Linked DNA regions of Homo sapiens: region 1 is linked to region 2. Evidence: promoter capture Hi-C in 16 types of primary human blood cells and fetal thymus (Javierre and others, 2016). All regions are on one chromosome and are shown on one strand. Each heading gives the region's core, a stretch centred on a gene start or on the middle of the fragment in contact. The rest is flanking DNA. Distances are from core to core; before and after follow the strand shown. Region 1 has its middle 27 kb from the start of HMCN1. Region 2 holds the start of TRMT1L (tRNA methyltransferase 1L).

Region 1 (5,446 bases), core at 1,083-3,582, 550 kb before region 2:
TCTGTCTCGTTGATCTGTCTAATGTTTACAGTGGGGTGTTAAAGTCTCCCATTATTAATGTGTGGGAGTCTAAGTCACTTTGTAGGTCTCTAAGGACTTGCTTTATGAATCTGGGTGCTCATGTATTGGGTGCATATATATTTAGGATAGTTAGCTCTTCTTGTTGAATTGATCCCTTTACCATTATGTAATGGCCTTCTTTGTCTCTTTTGATCTTTGTTGGTTTAAAGTCTGTTTTATCAGAGACTAGGATTGCAACCCCTGCCTTTTTTTGTTTTCCATTTGCTTGGTAGATCTTCCTCCATCCTTTTATTTTGAGCCTATGTGTGCCTCTGCACGTGAGATGGGTTTCCTGAATAAAGCACACTGATGGGTCTTGACTGTTTATCCAATTTGCCAGTCTGTGTCTTTTAATTGGAGCATTTAGTCCATTTACATTTAAAGTTAATATTGTTATGTGTGAATTTGATCCTGTCATTATGATGTTAGCTGGTTATTTTGCTCATTAGTTGATGCAGTTTCTTGCTAGTCTCGATGTTCTTTACATTTTGGCATGATTTTGCAGCGGCTGGTACCGGTTGTTCCTTTCATGTTTAGTGCTTCCTTCAGGAGCTCTTTTAGGGCAGGGCTGGTGGTGACAAAATCTCTCAGCATTTGCTTGTCTGTAAAGTATTTTATTTCTCCTTCACTTATGAAGCTTAGTTTGGCTGGATATGAAATTCTGGGTTGAAAATTCTTTTCTTTAAGAAAGTTGAATATTGGCCCCCACTCTCTTCTGGCTTGTAGAGTTTCTGCTGAGAGATCTGCTGTTAGTCTGATGGGCTTCCCTTTGAGGGTAACCCGACCTTTCTCTCTGGCTTGAAGGAGAAATCCCACCTTTCTCTCTGGCTTGAAATGAAGGAAAACATTTTTTCCTTCATTTCAACTTTGGTGAATCTGACAATTATGTGTCTTGGAGTTGCTCTTCTTGAGGAGTATCTTTGTGGCGTTCTCTGTATTTCCTGAATCTGAATGTTGGCCTGCCTTGCTAGATTGGGGAAGTTCTCCTGGATAATATCCTGCAGAGTGTTTTCCAACTTGGTTCCATTCTCCCCGTCACTTTCAGGTACACCAATCAGATGTAGATTTGGTCTTTTCACATAGTCCCATATTTCTTGGAGGCTTTTTTCATTTCTTTTTATTCTTTTTTCTCTAAACTTCCCTTCTCGCTTCATTTCACTCATTTCATCTTCCATCACTAATACTCTTTCTTCCAGTTTATTGCATCGGCTACTGAGGCTTCTGCATTCTTCACGTAGTTCTCAAGCCTTGGCTTTCAGCTCCATCAGCTCCTTTAAGCACTTCTCTATATTGGTTATTCTAGTTATACATTCATCTAAATTTTTTTCAAAGTTTTTAACTTCTTTGCCTTTGGTTTGAATGTACTCCCGTAGCTCGGAGTAGTTTGATCGTCTGAAGCCTTCTTCTCTCAACTCATCAAAGTCATTCTCCATCCAGGTTTGTTCTGTTCCTGGTGAGGAACTGCGTTCCTTTGGGGGAGGAGAGGTGCTCTGCTTTTTAGAGTTTCCAGTTTTTCTGCTCTGCTTTTTCCCCATCTTTGTGGTTTTATCTACTTTGTGGTCTTTGATGATGGTGATGTACAGATGGGTTTTTGGTGTGGATGTCCTTTCTGTTTGTTACTTTTCCTTCTAACAGACAGGACCCTCAGCTGCAGGTCTGTTGGAGTTTGCTAGAGGTCCACTCCAGACCCTTTTGCCTGGGTATCAGCAGCGGTGGCTGCAGAACAGCGGATTTTTGTGAACCGCGAATGCTGCTGTCTGATCGTTCCTCTGGAAGTTTTGTCTTAGAGGAGTACCCCGCCATGTGAGGTGTCAGTCTGTCCCTACTGGGGGGTGCCTCCCAGTTAGGCTGCTCGGGGGCCAGGGGTCAGGGACCCACTTGAGGAGGCAGTCTGCCGGTTCTCAGATCTCCAGCTGCGTGCTGGGAGAACCACTGCTCTCTTCAAAGCTGTCAGACAGGGACATTTAAGTCTGCAGAGGTTACTGCTGTCTTTTTGTTTGTCTGTGCCCTGGCCCCAGAAGTGGAGCCTACAGAGGCAGGCAGGCCTCCTTGAGCTGTGGTGGGCTCCACCCAGTTCGATCTTCCTGGCTGTTTTGTTTACCTAAGCAAGCCTGGGCAATGGCAGGCACCCCTCCCCCAGCCTCGCTGCCACCTTGCAGTTTGGTCTCAGACTGCTGTGCTAGCAATCAGCGAGGCTCCGTGGGCGTAGGACCCTCCGAGCCATGTGCGGCATATAATCTCCTGGTGCGCCGTTTTTTAAGCCCGTCGGAAAAGCGCAGTATTAGGGTGAGAGTGACCCGATTTTCCAGGTGCCGTCTGTCACCCCTTTCTTTGACTAGGAAAGGGAACTCCCTGACCCCTTGCACTTCCCGAGTGAGGCAATGCCTCGCCCTGTTTCGGCTTGCGCAGGGTACACTGCACCCACTGTCCTGTGCCCACTGTCTGGCACTCCCTAGTGAGATGAACCCGGTAGCTCAGATGGAAATGCAGAAATCACCTGTCTTCTGCATCACTCATGCTGGGAGCTGTAGACTGGAGCTGTTCCTATTTGGCCATCTTTTTTTTTGTTCAGCCTCCCCTTGCCCTGAATCCGAATGATCACAAGGTCCCACAATAGGCCAAGGTAGCCAGTCTGAGTCCCAAAAGCTGAAGAACCTGGAGTCTGATGTTCCAGGGCAGGAAGCATCCAGCATGAGAGAAAGATGTAAGGCTAGGAGGTTAAGCCAGTCTCCACTTAGCTCTTCTGGTTATACTGAGCGTTATGGGTTGAATTGTGACCTCCAAAAGCATATGTTGCAGCCCTAACCTGTGGTTCCTGTAATGTGACCTTATGTGGAAATAAAATCTTTGCAGATGTAAACAAATTAAGAGGAGGTCATTAGGGTGGGCCCTTAATTCAATATGACAGATGTTCTTATGAGAGGAAAAGATGACCATGTGAAGAGGTAGACACACAGGAAGAACGCTCTGTAGAGAGGGAGGCAGAGATTGGAGTTATGCTGCCATAAACTAGGGAAAACCTGGGGCTATCAGAAGTTTGAAGAAGCAAGGAAAGATCCTCCCCTAGAGGCTTTCAAGGTAACGTGGCCCTACCAACACCTTGATTTCAAACTTCTAGCCTCCAGAACTGTGAGATAATAAATTTCTGTTGTTCTAAGTCACCCAGTTTGTGGGAATTTGTTATGGCAGCTCCCGGAAACAAATATACTGTAAGTCATAAAGAGCCCAAGGAGGGATAGCTAGTTCTCTATGACTGAATGGACAACTGTACATCAGCAATGGTGTGAAACAAATATCTTCTTCGAAAAAGCATTTGGATGTGATGATCTCTAAAGATCTCTCCTGACTCTAAGATTCTCCAAATTCCCATACAGTAAAGTTTCCACACCAATAGATACATAAGATAGATATGTAGTTTATAGTTAGTGGGCTAGAAAGGCTAGACAACATATCTAACACATGCATGCATTTAAACCTCACATGCCTTATATCAGACATGCTCAGCTTCCCAGAACACCATAGATGTCTACATATCTTCATCCATTAATTCCAACCTTCCCTCAGAAAAGATATAGGAAGGAGATGGTGATAGATTAACTCCATAATAGTTATTTGGGGATTATCCACTATAGTAAAAATAGAAAATAAAATATGAATAGTATGACAAATTTGTGGTCTTGTGTCCTACCAAAATATCTCCTGCCTAGAGGTTTTTTTAAAAAAATAAAAAACACTGGGGTATATAACTACACTTTCTGAATTTAGGGCTGAGAGTCATAGAGTCCAAATTATTCAACTATTCTCTGCACTATCATAATAAAGCAAGCTCATGATTTCCCAAAAGATAGAAGGTACCATTGATACATTTTTTTTCTATGAAACGTTCACAATGTTTTAGGAAAGCTTTTAATGGTACATGATCTACATCTCTGTTTAATCTATGTTTCTGTTTCATGTTTACATAGTTTTATGTATGTCAATATGTTCTCACTTTTACAGAGTCTCTCTTGAATTGTAAACTATGAGAGAGAAAGAGACTCTCTTTTATAGATACAACATGACACAAGATACTTGGAGAATTTTTAAATATAGTAAATAGTGCTTTAGTTAAATGTTATTGTGTTTTGTCATAACCTGCAACTAATAGTGCTTTTTGATCCCCCTCATGGGGTTGTTGGGATGATTAAATATGACAGCTAGGGCAAGGCACTAGCACGGTGTCTAGCAATCAGTAAATCTCCATTAAATATCAGCTCCAGGTTTGATACTGAAACAAGTATTAGGGGTCAATATTTATGCTTAAAATTAAATATGCAAAATTGTAAGATTCTTACCCCTGTAGTGATATGGTGAGAAGAGGCAGAGCACAGAAGTTAGCACAAGCTTTAGAGCTCAACAGTCAGAGTTTGGGCCATGGCTGTTATACTCAGTAACTGTATGACCTCAGGAAGTTATCTGACTCCCAGCTCTTCAGTTATCATTAAAGAATTATTTTCAAAGTCATTAGAGATAGTGTTTATAAAGCACCTAATGTGACAACCAACACATAGTAAGCATTCAATAAATAGTAGCAGTAAATCCAAGGGGGGCTTCAGTCCATATTACCTCATCTCAAAGGATTCCTCTAAGTACTTGTCATTCTGTATACAACTCTTATTTTTATCTAATAATTTGATTTTCCCCAGATGGTTATTACATATTTATATAATGCCTATGTTCGTAAAAAAGCACATAATTAATTTTTTAAATGTATTAAATGCCCTGATAAGGAAACGCATCCAAAATTGAAAAAAGGAAGAAACAAAAAAGTAGATTGCAAGTTCTTCCAATATTTTATGGGTTTAAGATTTACCCAAGGGATTACCCAAGGGATTTCCCAAGGGATTATCCAGGAGAATATAATTTGATTTACTATATACTACTGATTAAAAGTCTCAAACGTAGTGACATTACCACGAAACTTATAAATTTTTGTCCAGTAAAAATGAAAATAAAGTCTGGCTTGTGGAACAGATTATCCCAAAGGTAATGGTATCCTGTAGGATATTAACCAGAATTTTTTAATGCAGTGTAGCAATCTTATCCTGACATTCCTTTATTAAATTGCTTATAAATGCCTAAGTCCTCAAATGCTTTTGCAACCAGCATAAACATCTTACTGATTCCTTCTTTAATAGATAAGCTGAATAGAATCTTTGACTTGTTTATTTTATATTTGCATGCAACTCATGGTTTTCATTTTCTTAAAATTATGTTAGTAGCTTTGAGAAAGCTTAGTAGAAAAAATAATTACCATAGTTAATATTTTAGAAAGTGAAAAATTATTTAGCAACATGAATGATCACTTTCTAATTAATCTCTTATAGCAGCCTTTTCTATGTGTTTT
Region 2 (5,435 bases), core at 1,472-3,971:
TGGTACACAGTAATGTCTACATACATACTTGCTTGTATGGTTGTCTTTCTACTAGACACTGAGCTCCTTGAGTGTGCCGTATTAAAAACTTAGGTGCTCATAAATGCCTACTGAGTGAATAAATGAGTGAATTCTTCTTCCTTGGAATATTAACTCTTTCATTCTGAACCACTTCCAATTCACTCACTGTAGTTCCTCTGTCCACCTCCCATCCCCGTCTCACTTTTCCAGCCCTGCTGTGGACCAAGTCAATACTGTTAGTGGATGACAGTATTGTGGACTATCCCAGAAAAACACTTATGTTTATGTTTATTCGGACAAATGTTGTATATTCATACTAGTGTGAAATTCCTATTGATTTTATGCAAATCAAAACATAAATGAGGGGAGACTTCATGTGCTGGCCAGTCTTCAAGATGGCTCCTGATGATTCCTGATGCTTGGTAATCATGCACTTAATGTAATCTGCTACCACAATGAATAAGGCTGACCTGTGTAATCAATAAGATATTACTGCTACATAGTGGTATGTGGCTAAATCATATAAGATATCATGACGTCTGCCTTGTTCTGTCTTGGACTGCTCACTCTAGGGAAAGTCAGAGTGTCATGAGGACACTCAAACAGCCCATGGAAAGGCTCGCAAGGGAAGAACTACTGGCATCTTGCCAACAACCAGAACCAACTAACAGCCAGGCATGTGAGTGTGTTACCTTTGAAGCTGATGATCCTGCACCCCTAATCAAGTGACATGACAGCAGCCCTGGCACATATCTTCACTGCAACCTCAGGAGACCCAAAGCCAGATCAACCCAGAAAGTCATTTCTGAGTTCCTGACCCACAGAAACTGTGGAGTAATAAATGTTTACTGTTGTTTTAAGCTACTATGTTTTGGTATAACTTATGCAGTAGCAATAGATGAATAACATTATTTAATTCTTCAAACATTGACGATTCCTTCTTCAGGATGTCTTACAAGCACAGACCATGCTTAGAAATTCTTACAAAAATTCCCACAGAATCCAGACACTAAAATCTGACCCTTTTAATCTGGTTTCCAGCTGGTGTTAAATGACATTAACATACTGAATCTAGCTTTCAGTTAACCATCTAGTCATTTAGAAATAAAAAATCATCATGAACGACAGTAAAAAAAAAAAAAAGAAATGAGAACAAGAATTATTGGATGATGCACAGATATAGTTAGCATTTCTGTAAGTTATAGTCAGTGTTATCCCATTTTTAATTGACTGTTGAGCCATGAGTCAACTACACATTCAGGAATACTAGATAAAAGCTGTACGGGACGATCAGTAAAAGGGATTTAGGACTATAACTCACAGAAGCTCCACAGGGATAATCTGTTCCCATTAAACTGGGGAGAGGTTAAACACACACACACACCCCTCCAGATATATACTTCTTAACTATAGGGGGAGGAGTTAATTTCCAGTTAGTGCTTCAAAGTGCCAAATAATCATGCTATCTCTTCCCCGGGGTTCTGAAACAAGTAGGAAACAAATAGACCAAGAAGATTGGCGTTTATCAACTTAATTAACTAAGAAAAGCTAACTGGAAGCGCGCGTCTTGTTCTTGAGACTAAATTGGGCTTCCCTCTCCTGCCCTGATGCCTAGAAGGTTCGGACCAAGCCCAAGCAGGGCAGCCAGAAAGTTCACGTTTTTCTCCTTTCTGTCCCAGTGGATTTATCGCGGGGGGACAGAAGAAAGAAACAAGAAAGGCTCGAATGTCAAGTAGGCACTAAGAGTGAAGGGGAGAGAAGTACGGGGGACAGGGGACTCGCTAGCATATGTTTTGGGGATCTGAAACGCATCAAAATTAAATGCCCCGAAGCTCTACCCACTCAGAGCTCTGGTTATTAAAAGCCTGAAAACAAAGCAAAATAGAGCAAAACAACTAATTTCTATCCACTGGCCACACCGCAGAACTGCTGATACTGGCAACATGAAGACTAAAGCAAAAATAAAAACAAAGGAAAAGAGTGTTCGGGTCACGGTGTAGGTGAGGGTGCGAAATGAAGAACAGACCCTAATTCCAAGTCAGCTGGATGGACAGGCAAGCTCGTCAGCTGCTAGTAAACCGCCGCGGGCCCGCGGGCTCCGCACGAACCGACCAGACCCCAACACCGGGCAAGGGGCAGCCCCGGAGGCAAGCCGGGCCAGAACCACACCCTCCACGGAGCTGGCTCGTCCCCGGACCCGCCCACAGAGTCGCCCCGCCCAGGTCCGTGTGACTCCTGAGTCCCCAGTCCGGCCGGCCGCCCGCCCGCCAGTATACTTGGGGCGGGGGACGAGGGGGAACCTGCCCAGCAAAACGTCAACGCACCCCGCAGTTCCTACCTTACCAGCGCCGGCGGCAGTGGCAACTCCGGAGCCCCAAGCCAAAGGAGAGGGACCCCCGCCTCCCAACACACACACACACCCCGCCCCACCAACTGTATGCCTGCTGGGAAACGTAGTTCTGCGCCCGCATCCGCACTACCTACTCACCGCCCCACAGCGCTCGCTTAGATTTGCATTTACTTCCTCCGAGGCTTGAACTCCGGCCCCGCCCCCAGACTGCGCAGTGTATCCTGGGTGCTGTAGTCTTTGTTCGGTTTGGTGGTTGGCCGGTGGGCCGGAGACGCACCGTAGAAACCGAACCCTCTTACCCAATTGGACGCCGTCCCCAGTACGCTTCTGCGCAGTTTGTGGTGGCGTCGTAACGCCTCGGGGAAAGGGAAGCGGACGGGCATCTGGAATCGCTGCCTCTGGCTTTCTGTTTTCTACTAACAGGATTTGGTCACTGGTTCTTCATCTTTTGTCTGTTGCACGCATCCCGCCCTCCCCACTTGCTTCCCCACTCCTTGGATCCAGCCCTGTGGGCATTCACGTCAGTTCTCTGACCCCGCCGTGAGCCCCGCTCCGGGTCCCCGGGCGGGCTTGGCACGGAGGCGGTAACTATGGAGAATATGGCGGAGGAGGAGCTGCTGCCCCTGGAGAAGGAGGAGGTGGAGGTGGCCCAGGTCCAGGTCCCGACCCCGGCCCGGGACTCGGCTGGGGTCCCAGCTCCGGCCCCGGATTCGGCTCTGGACTCGGCTCCGACTCCGGCCTCGGCTCCAGCCCCAGCCCCTGCCCTGGCCCAGGCTCCGGCCCTGTCCCCGTCCCTAGCCTCTGCCCCTGAGGAGGCTAAAAGCAGTAAGTGCAGAAGGCCCAGATCTTTCTGCTGCAGAAGAGAGAAAGTGCGCCTTGCTGGGAAGTAGGGGAGGCCCTTCACCGGGATGGTTTTTATGGGGCAAGGCAGGTTTAGGAAAATGGTGGGGAGGAAAGAGGGGCCCGTGTAGCGGCTAAAGCAGGGTTACAGAATGGGAGACGGCATCTTCATAAGCCTCGAGGATGTCACGGTGAGGGATATGCGGAGAGCAGGAATGCTGCAGATAGAAGGAAATAATGAGGTTAAGGGCTTTTTCTTAAAAGGGAGTCTTTTTAAGGTACAAAAATAGGAAGTTACACATAATTTGGTAGTTTCCCGCAGTCCAGTCTGCCATGGTTAACTAAGTTCTTTCAAATGTGACATAGTAACCGAGGCAACCTGTTTACGGTAGTAGATCCTAGCTGCCAACATTTCTAAACCATTACTGTCAACTAGCTTTTCTGCTTCGACAGCCACAAGGAGATGAGTTTTTCTCATTTCAGTTTTCTTTTCCCCCGCTAGCAGCTTGCCTCCGAAAAGATTTTGAGGCTGAGTAGTAGTTTAGGAAAGAGTCGACTAAATTTACGGATGTTTTCCCCCATACATAAATACCAATTGAGTTTTGTACTCCATTCCATCAGAAATAGACTGTTGAGAATTAATGGCCCATATTATTGTGCTTCTGAATGTGCCTGCATGTTTTCTAAGTGGTGGTTTATTGGACCATATAGGAATTTAAAAGACTGATGAGTAACACTTTCTTAAGGATCTTCTAACATTTTAAAATGTAAGGTCTAAGAAAGACATAATTTAAGTTCTTTTAACATTTAGTTTGTGGTCATAAGTTGACCTTTATGTGCTTTCTGAATTGGAACTTAAAATAATCTTTAATTCATTATTTTTTCTACTTCTAGGCCAGTTTTGAGTTTAATATTTATAAAAGGTTAGATAGTTATAGATAGGATTATTTTGCAGTTTTGAAACAACATACAAATTGTTATAGATTTCAGAGTAGGGCTAATCACAGGAAAGACAAAAGTCAGAATGCTTCAGGTAAGCCCCTTCTCATTATATAAGATCAGAGCTTGTAGGTACAAAATAAGGCCAGTTGTTTCTTCAACTACAGTGGGTAGGGATCGGGGAGGCATGGGGAGCTGAGAGGGTTCCACCCTCCTAAGTAGCCTCCTACCTCACTTCGAAGTTGTATTTGTTTATATTAGTCAGAAGTGGTTCAGCAGCTTTGGGAAATGCATGCATTCTCTACCTCCTCACCATCAAAAATATGTTAAACATAGAAAAGACTTATCTATATATTCCAAAATTTACAAATATGTAATTTGAAGAAGGTATACTATATGGGAAACTGAAAATGCATTAGTAGGACAAATATGTAATGATTGAGAAGTCTGAAATGCATTAGAACTAATACATATATTAATCACATTTTAAACATTATTTTTAGTTGATCTAGTTAGTCCTTTGAAATCAGTCATAACTAGGTAAGATGAAGATAGCCTATCTGAAATAGAATTGAAAATTGAGGAAAAAGTAATAGAATAAGTTGTAAAAGACCCTCCTAGCATCTTGGAGACATCTAATTTAACAAGAAGTTTGCCTGTTGACTTCTGGATTAATAGTGTGTTACAAAAAGCAGATTGAGTATTTTGCATACAGATTGTCTGATACGCACTATCTTAAACCAGAAGGTGATTTCAGAGATGTTTATAGGCATATCATGCATTTTTAAACAGATCTTCAAGAGTTTCTTCAGTAGTAGACCACAGGATTTTTAGTTTTCTAACTTAACCAAGCTCCTTTCTCTTATTTTGTGCTATTTAATAGAATAATTTCAATAGGCACGTCTTTATTGATTGCTGTTTATCTTGTTTTACATACACAGATCTTTGAACTCTGGAACCAAAAGCCTTTATGGTTACAAATTAGATAGGTTAGTTTGTACACATGGATTCATTTCTGGAATATTGCTGTCTGACCTAGCAAAAGATTTTTATGAAACATGAAGAAGTTTTACCTGTTTATAGAAATTATATCTCATTATAACTCATTTGACCAGTATCTGATATAGGAAATTAACCAATATTGTTTGTTGCTTCTTTAAAAATGAGGTGAATAACCAGGCACCAGCCTATACTCCCAGCTACTCAGGAGGCTGAGGCAGGAGGATTGCTTGAGCCCAGGAGTTTGAGGCTGCAGTGAGCTATGATTGAGCCACTACATTCCATG

What was found. Contacts are between HindIII fragments. The CHiCAGO score rates a contact against its expected background, and 5 or more counts as called.
Region 1: a contact is called between a fragment that was not itself captured here and the fragment with the promoter of TRMT1L in region 2, in 7 of 17 cell types (total B cells, non-activated CD4 T cells, naive B cells and 4 more). The highest score is 8.4, in total B cells.

What each region holds. Positions count from the first base shown.
Region 1 is chr1:185,704,571-185,710,016 of GRCh38, reverse strand. No RefSeq gene overlaps it. Among named protein-coding and RNA genes, the nearest start is that of HMCN1, 27 kb to the left of the region's middle. The HindIII fragment of the contact is 3,266 bases long and covers 700-3,965 here.
Region 2 is chr1:185,154,239-185,159,673 of GRCh38, reverse strand. It overlaps TRMT1L (tRNA methyltransferase 1L), which reads left to right and starts at 2,721. Exons shown (of 15, transcript NM_030934.5): 1 at 2,721-3,196. The coding sequence starts at 2,962. It overlaps SWT1 (SWT1 RNA endoribonuclease homolog), which reads right to left and starts at 2,507. Exons shown (of 19, transcript NM_017673.7): 1 at 2,360-2,507. RefSeq lists silencers at 2,115-2,234, 2,975-3,224 and enhancers at 2,775-2,884, 2,728-3,633. The HindIII fragment of the contact is 11,948 bases long and covers 1-5,435 here.